Regions from separate parts of the Homo sapiens genome. Here region 1 is linked to region 2. Evidence: promoter capture Hi-C in 16 types of primary human blood cells and fetal thymus (Javierre and others, 2016). All regions are on one chromosome and are shown on one strand. Each heading gives the region's core, a stretch centred on a gene start or on the middle of the fragment in contact. The rest is flanking DNA. Distances are from core to core; before and after follow the strand shown.

Evidence for each region. Contacts are between HindIII fragments. The CHiCAGO score rates a contact against its expected background, and 5 or more counts as called.
Region 1: a contact is called between the fragment with the promoter of ALMS1 here and the fragment with the promoter of ETAA1 in region 2, in 2 of 17 cell types (non-activated CD4 T cells and activated CD4 T cells). The highest score is 6.8, in non-activated CD4 T cells.

What each region holds. Positions count from the first base shown.
Region 1 is chr2:73,383,880-73,390,517 of GRCh38, reverse strand. It overlaps ALMS1 (ALMS1 centrosome and basal body associated protein), which reads right to left and starts at 4,682. Exons shown (of 23, transcript NM_001378454.1): 1 at 4,326-4,682. The coding sequence starts at 4,649. It overlaps LOC105374804 (a long non-coding RNA gene), which reads left to right and starts at 4,837. Exons shown (of 4, transcript XR_007087053.1): 1 at 4,837-5,065. RefSeq lists enhancers at 3,894-4,133, 4,174-4,923 and silencers at 4,194-4,363, 4,524-4,923. The HindIII fragment of the contact is 2,912 bases long and covers 3,253-6,164 here.
Region 2 is chr2:67,395,847-67,402,462 of GRCh38, reverse strand. ETAA1 (ETAA1 activator of ATR kinase) reads right to left here and starts at 5,130. Exons shown (of 6, transcript NM_019002.4): 1 at 4,792-5,130; 2 at 3,166-3,294; 3 at 2,837-2,913. The coding sequence starts at 5,014. The HindIII fragment of the contact is 4,361 bases long and covers 3,526-6,616 here.

The DNA.
Region 1 (6,638 bases), core at 3,433-5,932, 6.0 Mb before region 2:
AGTTTAACTCAGCCTTAGTAACAGGACTACAAACTTAATCACTGCCTTATATAACACCACTATAACTCCCTTATTATCTAGTGAGATATGAGAGTAAATTGAATAACACAATTTTGTCATTTAACTTGAGAGTAAACTGGATGAAATTAATGTTTCCTATTATTTGATCTCATCCTCTAAATACGCAGCATTAGATGTTATACAACACATCTAAGAATTTCATAGTTCATAAATTTCTAGCAAGAAACATACTAAGCATTTTTTCCTTAAACACTTTCCAACCTATGCCAGTAAGTTTCAATATGCCAGTGAACTAAAGGAAAAATTATCTGAACACTCCTTGTATCATTGTAAATCTACCTTTAATACAGAAAATCATCTATATATTCTATATATTATCATATATTCTCTCAGGTAAATAAGAAAATATCTAATTTTTCTCAGGGGAAAGAAAAAACTGTGGGGAGGAAAAAATACTCTGGGCTCTCAGAAGTAAGATTTTCTATTACCCATAGATAGTTCACGATTAGAGGCCGGGCGCGGTGGCTCATGCCTCTAATCCCAACACTTTGGGAGGCTGAGGCAGGCAGATCACAGGTCAGGAGTTCAAGACCAGCCTGGCCAACATGGTGAAACCCCATCTCTACTAAAACTACAAAAATTAGCCAGGCGTGGTGGTGGATACCTGTAATCCCAGCTACTCGGGAGGCTGAGGCAGGAGAATTGCTTGAACCCAGGAGGCAGAGGTTGCAGTGAACCAAGATCGTGACACTGCACTCCAGCCTGGGCAACAGAGCAAGACTTCATCTCGGCGGGGGAAAAAAAAGATAGTTCATTATTAAACAGGAAAATAATTTTCTCACATTGGCTGTAGTAAAAGAGGGTTAGCTTAAAAATTCCTCCTCTGGGTCCCTATCTCTCACCATATGCAAAGATTAACTCAAGATAGATTAAAGATTTAAATGTAAGGCCCGAAATTATAATAATCCTAAAGAATACTTAGGAAAAAAGTTTATGATTAAGACCTCAAAAGCAAATGCAACAAAAATAAAAACAGACAAATGGAACTTAATTAAACTAGAAGAGCTCCTGCACAGCAAAATAAACTACCAACAGAGTAAACAGACAACCTACAGGATGGGAGAAAATATCTGCAAACTATGCATCTGACAAAGGACTAATATCCAGCATCTATAAGGAACTCAAACAAATCAACAGGAAGAAAAAACAAATAACCCCACTAAAAAGCGGGCAAAAGACTGAACAGACACTTCTCAAAAGAAGACATACGAGCGGCCAAAAAACATGAAAAAATGCTCAACATCACTAAGCATCAGAGAAATGCAAATTAAAATCACAATGAGATACCATCTCACACCAGTCAGAATGGCTATTATTAAAAAGTCAAAAAACAGATGTTGGCAAGGATGAGAAGAAAAGGGAACACGTATACACTGTTGTTGGGAATGTAAATTGTTCAACTCCTATGGAAAGCAGTATGGAGATTTCTTGAAGAACTCAAAACAGAACTACCATTTGACCCAGCAATCCTACTACTGGGTATCTCTCCAAAGGAAATTAAATCATTTCATCAAAAAGACATCTGAGCCAGGCACACTGGCTCACACCTGTAATCCCAGCACTTTGGGAAGCCAAGGCGGAGTATCACTTGAGCCCAGGTGTTCTACACCAGCTAGACGCCATTAAAAAAAAAGAAAAAAATCTGTGCTCATATGTTTATCACAGCACCGTTCACAATAGCAAAGTCATGAAATCAACCTAAGTGTCCATCAACAACTGAATGGGTAAAGAAAATGTAGTATGTATTAATATACATTGTGGAATATTATGCAGCTATAAACAGAATGAAATCCTGTCCTTTGCAGCAACATGGATGGAGCCTGGAGGCTATTTATCAAGTGAAACAATTCAGAAACAGAAAATCAAATACCACATGCTCTCACTGGTAAGACAAGTGGGTACAATGGGTACACAGAGGCATAAAGATAAATGGGTACAATAAGTACCCACAGACATAAAGATGGAAATAAACAGACACTGGGGGCTCCAGAAGGAGGAGAGAAGGGCTGAAAAATTACCTATCAAGTACAATGTTACACTATCACGTACAAAGGTATATTATTTGGGTGAGAGGTTCACTAGAAGCCCAAACCTCACCATTATGCAATATATCCATGTTAATTACGTGCATATGTACCCCCAAATCTAAAATTAAATTAAAATTTTGTTTAAAAAACTCCTCCTCTAGGCTTCAAGATAAAGTTTGAATATTAATAGTTATTCAAGCAAGAAGTCACAGGACAAAATAAAAGTTAGAAGACCTAGTCAACAAGTGTGGCTTTAATTATGGTCTCTATGTAAATGACTTACAACTTGAAATCTCTAGCCCAGCCTTCTCCTTCAATCTTCAAAACCAAACTCATAATCTTAAGACTCACCCAACCAATTCCACCACCCACTCACAGCCACCACCTCCACCATAAATCTGGCCATATCTTAATATTGGCACAACCATTCAAACAATAACCTAACACCTGGCTACTTCACCTTTCACATCCCATCCGTTATTAAGTATGATGATTTTGCCTCTTAAATATCTCTCAAATCAGTCCACTTTTCCCTGTATCCACCAACACTTCCCTATTCCAAACTTTCATCATCTTTTGCCGGGCAATGCTGCAATGGTCTCCTAATTTATGCCCTTGACCTATGGCTACTGCTCCCCATCCCACCTTGCTATCACAGCTGTTCCACACTCTGCTATACACCTGACCTTTCTGAAACACCTAACTTATCATACATCCCCTCGTTTCAAATATTTTCTTCAACTCCCCAAAGCTCCAGAGATAAAGCCCCTAAATCCTTGGCATAGCACACAAAGCCTTGCAGTCTGTGCTCAAACCACGTTGGCTTCTGGGTCCTGGAAAATGCCATGCTCTCTCTCATCAACAGTACCTTTTCATGTGTTTTTCCCTCAGCTAGACGGCTCTTTCCCTCCCCTTTGCCTGATTAACCTTAAACTGTCTTCAGATATCAGCTCTATCATAACCTCCTCAAGAAGGCTTTCCCAACTTCACTGACAAGGCCAGATTATCTTACTTTATGCTTTCATAGAATATTAGCACATATATTAGTTTCACTTTATGTGATCATCTGAAATCTGTCTGCCTCCCTGTCTAGACCATGAACACAAGGAAGGCAGAGACCAAAAATGTTTGGGTTCACCAAGCTTTCCTTAGCACCCAGCACAATGTGTGGCACATGGTGAATTCTAATAATACATGTTCAATGAATTAAGTACCCCCTGGAATATTCACCAGACAAAACAACAACTACTGCTCATTAGTGACAAAACTCTACACCTTCACTGTCTGTGATGATGGAACTGTTCCATTATCTGCTCTGTCCAACATGGTAGCCACTAGCCTAGTGTGGCTGCTGAGCACTTGAAAACCGGTAAGAACAGACGCATGGAATTTTTCATTTAATTTATTTTTAACTCTTACTCAAAACTATAATAGTTTTCTCTTTAAGATGTAAAAAGCCACACGTGGCCAGTGGCTACTGTACTGAGCAGGGCAGGTCTTGCTCCTCGAAAAGCAGTAAGTTAAAAAAAGGGGGGTAAGGGCAGCAAATTAAATGGAGAGTTATTTTCAAAATGATCTTCGGGGGTCTACCATGAAATCGGCTTTCTCCATTGTGTATTATCTGTGCTTTGTAGTTTTGCAGACTGTTTGGAGCCGCATCACAAGCCTCCTGCATTCCAAGCCCCTCCTATCGGCTGGGGAACCCCTTTATTGCTACAAATGATGGTCCAGGGGAGGAAAACCCGCGGGGAGCCTCTCCAGACTAAGTGATCGCGCGGTGTACATTATCCACATTACTCCCTCAGGGGAGTCCTGCAATTCAGTCAAGCTCATCTGTTCACTGTCTCCCCAACAAGATGCTCCCCAGGCAACCACTCGCTCCGGTCCTACACCGCCTTTTCCCTCCTTCAAGGCTCGACACACCCGTGGTCCTCTCTCAGCGTTTCTCACGGGGAATGCAGGCTCCCCTGAACGTCTACGGGAGTTCAAAAGGCCCAGGACCCACCGAGGGGGAGGAAACGAGAAGTCTTTGCCACAAAGCCTGGGAGACGCGGAGCAGCCGGCCGGCACCTGGGCTGGAGTCTGGGCCGCCTACTAGCCTCAGCTGCGCGCGTTTTCTCCGTCAGGCGGCGTGACCTGCGGGCGGGCGGAGCGCTCGGGGCCCAGCCTCCACCCCCAACTCGCCGCGGCTCCACACCCCTCCCCGGCCCGCCTCACCTTCTCCAGGGAGGTCCGCTCGCCCTCCGAGTAGCGGTGCTGCGGGGGCGACAGCGGAGGCAAAATCCTGCCGGGGTGCGCCTGCAGCCAGGCCTTGGCCTCCTCGTCCTCCTCGTCGTCTATACTTTCCAGATGCTGGGGCCCGTAGTGAGAGTCGGAGTCCAACTCCCGCCCCGCCTCTTCCTCCACCTCCTCCACGACCACTACGTCGTCCACGTTCGCCGCCGCCGCCGCTGCAGCCTCCTCCTCTTCCTCCTCCTCCTCCTCCTCCTCCTCCTCCTCCTCCTCCAGCTCGCCCGGCCATGGCAGATCCTCGGGCTCCATGTTGGTGTCTCGCTCTGGGCGGCAGAGGAGGAGGAGGAGGGGGGGAGGGAGGGGAAGGGGAGAGCCCTGACTGGCGGTTGTGGCCCAGCTTAGGCGCAGTGCCGCCCGCCTGGGCGGGGCCGGAAGACCGCGCGCGCGTTGCTAGGGACGCCGCGCGAGGCCCGGCGGGAACGCCTTAGGGCGGAGGTTTGCTACAGGCGACGTTGCCGCCTCGCCGCCGTCACCGGCCGGGACCTTGCGAACTGTACTGTAAGCTCACAATAAACCGGGACTGGGCGCCTTCCGGGGCGCAGAGGGCCCCGCGCAAGGACAGTGTAGTTCTCGGCTGGGGTCGAGTTTCGCCCCTGCACAGAGAAGAGATCAAACTCTAGGACGTACCCGTTATAATCACACATGCAAATTATAAAGTTTTAAAGGTTGAGTATCTCCTAAAGTGTCAAGCTGTATGGTGGGCGCTTGAACCTAACCGTGGAAAAGTGTCACGGGTTGTTAGAGGGATTAAGAACTGGGCACTGGCATCAGAAAGATCGGAGTTTGAATCCTGGCATCACCACTTAAAGTGGTGTGACTTTGTGTTTATAAAACGATGATAATAGGCCATCGCATAGGATGGGTGTGATAATTAAAGGAAATAATCAATGTGAAGGACTTAGTGATAGGTTGGTTATTGTACAATAACTCATTAGATGCTCACGGTTCTGTGAGACAAGTATTACTATTTCATGTATGAAGAATCTGAGGCTAAAAAAATTAATTTGCCCAAAGTTTCTTACCTAGTAAGTGGCTGACTCAGTATGCCATCCCAGGTCCTCTGTTAGTGTAGGAATTGCCCTGGCCTAGACCAACCAGCTGTTAAAGGATAACAGAGCAAATATTTATACTGATAGTACATATGTTTTGGTGGTTCGTCAATGACTTTGGAGTGCTTTAAAAACAAAGATTTCCTGACCGCTTCAGGAACCTCTACGAAATGAATGGCAAATTAAAGTATCTTAAGATGCCATGTAACCAGACACCACCTGTACCCCCAATAACCTATGGGGAAAATTTTTAAATTAAAATTTTAAATAATAATTATAATCTTGAGATGCTTCACTGTTACCAAAGGAAATAGCCATAATTAAAGTGGAGTCCAGCAAAAAGTCTTCATGGTATTACCCACAATAGTAGAGATACATTGATAATGATGCTGAACCAATGTTGGTGGGGCAATTTTAGGGTTATTGCCAAGGATGTATGTCCTGCCTACCTGTCAATGACCCAATCCTGGCAAAACTTTAAGGGTAGAACATGAACTGGAGCCCAGTCTTGGAGTTCTGTTGAACACCTCTAAATGGACTATGAGTACATTAGGGTTATTTATTCTTAAGGGGTTTAGGGGTTCTCCTTGCCGGAGACCTATTACTGTAATAGTAGAAAAGAATTTATTAATTTTGTATTCCTGAATGTGAAATCTCAATGTTTATCTCCAGTAAGAGGACACACATTTCACTGATATTAAATAACTGTAAAGCTTTACCTTTTTAGAAACTCCGCTATCTTTTTGCATCCACAAATTTCAGGAAAGATAAAGAGAACTAATAGAATTCTAAAAAATAGCTTTCAAAGTTCTCTAACTTCCATCTAACTTCCAAAGCCCAAAGTACTTCTATTTGCCTTGATGGCAATAAGGTCAGTCCATTCTAAGGCCCATAAGTTATCTCCTTCTGAGTTAATAACAGGCTTCCTCATGTATTTGTGAATTACTTCCAATACTAGATGCTACTAATATAAGCTGTTATCACTAATTGCTGCAGGAGACTTCTAAGATTAACTCCTGCTTTATCAACAACAGATGGAAGCTGCATTCTCAAAGCACCCACCTAAGCAGCTTCTGAAGTTAGAGATTTGGTCTTCTGAAAAAGCATTAGAAAACAATTTCCCTTGAGCCTCAATGCAAGAAAAAAAAATGTCAGGTACTATCAACAACTGACCCAGGAGTAAAACTAG
Region 2 (6,616 bases), core at 3,881-6,380:
TTGAGAGGAGATACATATGGAATTCTTTCTGTATCATCTGTTTCTCCAAATTTTCTTTATCCTTATTATAATCTTTATCTAAAGTTGGACAATCCATGTTGACCTAAATTAAGAACACTCAGAATTAAGATCAGGAATGAATTAAGAGATAAGAGCAAGGTTAGAACTGATGCTAAGAATGAGACAGGAATAAGAATAAAAAAATAGAGAAAACAGAAAAGTTTAGCCCAGATAATATACAGAAAAAAGGCATTTTAGACCTGGATACTTTTGCTGTACCTTTCAGTCACTTGATCACACAAAAAAATTACAGAATGAGCTTTAGGCATTAATTGCAAACCAAACCAACAAATCAAATCAAGTAACCATTTTCACTCTATTTTATAGTACCTAGAATGAACATAAATATCACACAATTTAAAAAATAATTTTACTACTAGATTATAGGCTACTCAAAGGCAAGGACTCTTCTTAGAATAACTCAGCATCCAGCACAATATTGGGCATACCAGTGTCAGTATACATTTATTTACTAGAAGATTTAGGTGAAAAGATCCCTACAGTTTGGTACTTCAAATCCTCAATGAATCAAAAAAGTTTTCTTAATGTCAACTTGAACCTAGTTGCCTTTAGCTTTGCAAATACTCAAGAAAATCAGTAATTTCACTTTCAGACTCAATATATTTTCCCTTTTATTTCAACAATCTTGAATTTAAAGACAATCATAGTCTTAATTATGAACTCTGCCATTTACAAAAGTAATTTTAAATTCATTCAATTTTCAGAGAACTAAATTATGACTTTATGTACCCAACTTTACATATACATGGGTCCTATGTATGTTTGTATACTATTTATACATGTTATTACATATTTCTTCATGAATAATTACATAATTTATTGATTTTCAACCATAATCCAGGTGCTGTATAAGGTATCTAAATGCATTACTTCATTTCATTATAAAAAGTATACTGTGCAAAGCTGTATAAATGAAGATACATACCATCTTCAAATAAACAACATTGTATAAAAGTATCCCTGCAAAAAGTGAACTGACTGTCCAACCAAAATAAAAGCGCATATTTAAAAAAATGCTATCTCTGAAAATGTTAAAACTAAATGATTTGAGAATGACTCACCTAAAAATAAACAATATAAGTATTTGTCATTCTGAGAACATGACAAGCTTTCAAACAGACCTTGAAACTGCTAAAGATTTATATGCTTTAAAAGTACTCAGTTTAAGAGGGTAACATTTTAAAGCTACTAATTTCACTATATTTTTTTCTTTTATACAAGTTACCACTTGCGTACTGTTGTCATTTCTTTATATGAGCTATTATTTCTAGCCCACTTAGGTAAAGAGTCCAATAATTTATTCACAACTATCTTTTTATCACTATTTAGACTGGCCCACCCAAACACATTTTATTATGCTTCTTTCATGTGAAACCCACAATTAATGAAGATCTATTGTTAACTTATAGAGTAAGTACTATTATGGCATAAATGCTATTTAACTAATTAACTGTAAGTAAAATGAATTTCTATGACATGCTAAAAATGGAATGTAGAGCTAGTAGCAACAGAGTTGTTTTGACTGTGCTAGGTGTAATTTTGGATATTTTATAGCTGCTAAGAAAAACTTCATTTTCTGTCTCTTCCACCTGGGTGACAGTAATTCTTCAAACCATGTTTTGGGCCAGTGCCATCTATTGTTTATGGTCAACATATAGTAACTATTCAAGCGCAGGTTAAGGAAAAATGGCATACTTCCTTCAGAGAAGACACTAAGCAAAAATGTTCTCTGGATTTAAATGTTAAATAAGAAAAAGAGAACAAAAAGTAAAGAAGTTCAGAACAGTTTCACGTATTGAGCCTTTGCTTCTTAGTAATTATAATATTAGAGTTACTGGATTGCTTTGTGTCAAATGATTGACTTGAACATATTTCTATTTCACTCAAACAATAAAAGAACAGAAATGAAAAAAAGAAACGAAACACTCAAAAAAAAATTTTTTTTAAGAGACAGGGTCTTAAACTCCTGGCCTCAAGCAATCTTCCTGCCTCAGCCTTCCTCCCAAAATGCTGAGATTACAGGAATGAGTCACCATGCCTGTCCAAGAAAAGAAAAAAAAGCTTTGGAGATGGTTCTATTACAGTAACAACCTTAACGTAACCTTACAATTATAGCACTCTATAGTTTACAAAGAATTTTTATCTAGTTTAATTCTCATAATGATCCAATGAAGACAGCAAGAGCAACACAATAATTCTAGTTCATGGCTGAATGAACTGAAGTGGTGGGAGTTTAAATAACTTGCACTGGGTCACACAGCATAGGAGGTTGAATGAGGACTAAATTTGAATTCAGTGCTCTCCACTTTTGTAAGTGTTTCTTGATAATCTTATAAGGAAATGAGTATTAATAGTTTCAATGGGGAAATGTTACAGACAGGAAGTACCAATCACAAAACAATCATAGAAGTATAAACTTTTTTCACTGCCTTATTCTATTATTTTAGCAACTTGAAAAATGATGTCGTATGTTGTTAAGCACAACATTACAGATAAACACAATGCCCTAGTCAAAAATTACTCTAAAAAATTAAAACAAGATATATACTTAAGAAAATATCTTGTATTTTATATTATATTCCTTTTTTCAAAATATGTATTTCAAAAGTAGAAAAGGCAAAACAGTAATCTTTGCTGCCTTATTTTTGGAAAAAAGAATTATAATAGACAATACTTTTCATTTAAAGAAACTACAAAAACTTAGTGGCACATTCTTCACTGTTTTAAAACAAACTGTAAAACTAGTGATATTTACCTGAGGAGCAATACGATTAACAATATGTGAAATCTCATCACTATCTGTGGTGTAAATCTGTTTTTTTCTTCCTTTACCTAAAGAAACAAAGACATTTCTATAAATTTTAAACAAAAAACCCTCCATTTTAAAAAACAGCTGTCACTTCTTAGAAAGTAATTTTATTTAGTGCAGCTTAGAGGATTATGTGTTTACATCACATACTTATACAGATAAAATCATATAACATTCTCAGAGGTTCCCGATGCTATTATCTGACTAGAATTCTAGTTAAATCTGAATCATTTATCAAATATTTACTCACATAAAAAATGTTAATAATTAATTACCTAACTGCTTTGTCAATGGAGAATTCTGATCCCAAAAGATATCATTCTGTCCATCTGGATCATTAGGAGAACTGAAGGAAGATGACAGTGAGTCCATTTTCAGCGCTCTCTTTGGTGTTTCATACCTTTCTATATAAAATATGAGTAAAATAACAATTGTTGCATTTTAAAGCATTACCTTACTTCGTAAGACCCCAAGGTCAAATAGCTGAGACTAACTTTTATAGTCCAAGATAATTTTTTTTCCCAGAGATAATTACCTGAACCGTAACAGAAATGCTTGTTTCACATAAAAATCCACGCGGCACTTCGCAAACTTCACATTGTAAATAGCAAACACTTCTAGATAATCCAGAAGCTTTATGAATGCATAATACAATACTGTATAACCTAAGTCATTCTATTTATTACCATTGAGTCTTGGAGGCTTTGGGGAACCATCTGTAATTTATAGGTACATTCAAAAATCCAAAGTAACCCAACAGAAACCTAAATATGTTTAGCCCCCTTTCACCAACTCTATCTAATCTACATTAATTGCCATTCTTCAAAAACCATTAGTGATCCAATGCTTGGGAATTTTTGTCTAGAATCACTTTCAAATTTTTATAAAGATTTTTGTTCATTCCCAAATTGCTTTATAGGAGTATTATTAAAGACATGTAAGGTGGCCGGGCGCGGTGGCTGTAATCCCAGCACTTTGGGAGGCCGAGGCGGGTGGATCACGAGGTCAGGAAATCGAGACCATCCTGGCTAACACGGTGAAACCCCTGTCTCTACCAAAAATACAAAAAATTAGCCGGGCGAGGTGGCACACGCCTGTAGTCCCAGCTACTTGGGAGGCTGAGGCAGGAGAATCGCTTGAACCCGGGAGGCGGAGGTTGCAGTGAGCCGAGATTGTGCTACTGCACTGCAGCCTGGGCGACAGGGCGAGATTCTTTCCCAAAAGAAAAAAGACACGTAAGGTATAAAAAAAAAAAAAAAAAAAAAAGCACTATTTCAAGAACATGCTCCAGAATAAAGGCTTTTGTATGAGTTTCAGTTCCAACTAAGATTTACTAGAAGTCTTTTAAAAAGTAACACCTAAAACTAATCGAGACGAAAGAGATCCTTAGTATCTTATTTGGAGGGATGTTACACACAGGAACTTCCGGTTTATTCACAATGAGGTGAGACATCTACCAGGCTTTGAGACAAACTTTAACTTTTCCTATGAACTCTTCTCTAAAGCAGGTCACAGGGAAAAAAAGGGTTTAAAGAGAAATAACTTCTCCGGGCAAAAACTGAGGTTAGCGGGCCTATCAGCTGTTTCTTCTCACTCCACCACTGCTGCTGACTGGAGGAGCAGCCTGGAAAGCAGCCGCCCTCCCGCAAACAGGTAAACCACATTACCTATTCCTGTGGCGGAGGCAAATGGATGGTCAAACCTAACGGGGTAGTGCTGAAGTTCGGGGACAAAAGCCCATCGGGGAGTGGTATAGGATTATTTTTGGACTCTCGAGGGGTGAATCCCAGAGACAGAATACACGCTCCAGACTCCACCCCCACCCCAGATTTCCCTGTTGCAAGCTGGGATGTGGGGATGCGGCGCCGAAGCCAAGGCAGGCCGCGCTGCCGACGTCTCACCCTCGGGGTTACTTTTACTGCACAGGGCGGCGGTCGGAGGCTGCTCTCGCTGCCGCACTGGCCCGGGAGGCCCCTCTCTAGCCCCGCAGGGCCACGAACCGCGGGCCGATCTCAGCCGCCTCCTCCCTGGCTCGACCACCGAGCCGCATTCCTCCGCCGCCACTGTTTTGTGCGGCGTTTTCTTCGGGCTAGGGCTGTCATCATGTTTCCTTCGCCGACTCATTGCCTATGGCCCGCCTCCACCAGCCGCTTCTTCTTTCACATTTTGCAAAGGGATGAGTAGGGCAACAGCACTACAAACCGCACCCCGCACCAACGGCAGCCGCCATTTTGGTCGGTGGGGCGCGCGCAAGAGGCGGCCGCTGATTGGCTGGGTCCGGGAGAGGGGCGGAACTGTTAAGGTGCCGAGGGCGCGCGCACTTCCGCAGCCGGGACAGGAGCCTGCTCTGGAGGAGTGTCTAGGCTCAAAATCCTCCAGACTGGTGGGGGTTGTTCGGGTAGTAGTCAGGTCCGCGTAAACTGAGAGTGGGAGCTTGTGAGTTGGAAAGATTGAATACACTAGCAACTTTTTATTGAATTTACAACGAAAATTGCACGTTAGTCAAATTCAGATTATTGAGAGTCTTCGAATTTCTCAAGAAGAGGAAATACAGTTAATTTTTCATAGATGCTATGTGCATAGAAAAATCCAAAAGAAAGTAGAAAAAATTACTAAATTAATTTAAGAGTTGCTGGATACAAAGTCAATATTCAAAGATCAATGTGTTTCAATAGATTAGCAACAGATATAAAATTGAAGTTTTAAAGAGATACTATTTATAATAGTGCATGAGATAGCAAGTAACTAGGAATAAGTTAAAGATTGTCCTTCCTACAAAGAGAACTATAAAACATTTTTGAGGCCGGGCGCCATGGCTCAAGCCTGTAATCTCAGCACTTTGGGAGGCCGAGGCAGGCGGATCACGAGGTCAGGAGTTCAAGACCAGCCTGACCAGCATGGTGAAACCCCGTCTCTACTAAAAATACAAAAAATTAGCCGGGCATGGTGGTGCGTGCCTGTAGTCCCGGCTACTGGGGAGGCCAAGGCAGGAGAATTGCTTGAACCTGGGAGGCGGAGGTTGCAATGAGCCGAGATTGCGCCACTGCACTTGCAGTGAGCAGAGATCGCGCATCTGCATTCCAGCCTGGGCGACAGAGGGGGACTTCGTGTAAAATAAGTAAATACATACATACATACATACATACAAAAATTAGCCAGGCGTGGTGGCGGGTGCCTGTAATCCCAGCTACTTGGGAGCTGAGGCAGAGAATTGCTTGAACCTGGGAGGTGGAGGTTGCAGTGAGCCGAGATTGCGCCACTGCACTCCAGCCTGGGCAACAGAGCAAGACTCCGTCTCAAAAAAAAAAAAAATTTTTTTTTTGAAAGAAAACGAAGACCTAAATAAATGGTTACACTATGTTCATGGGTTGTGAGACTCAATATTGTTACAATGTCAGCTATTTCCAAACTGACCTATAGATTCAACATAAATACATATGAAGGCCCAGTGTGTGACTGTGTGTGTGTAACATGGTAAGTTTTTTCTAAAATTTATATGAAAATGCAAGGGACCAAAAATATCAATAAACTCTTGAAGATCTCTCGAAGAATAATGAGGGTTGATATCTACCAGGTATCAAGACTTATATGGTAATTAAGACAGTGTTATGATGGTGTCAGGATAGACAAAGATGAAAGAAACAGGATAGCACAGAAACAGACTTCCATATAAATGAACACGATTTAAGACAAAGGTGACCCTTCTGAGCAATGGTAAAAGGACTT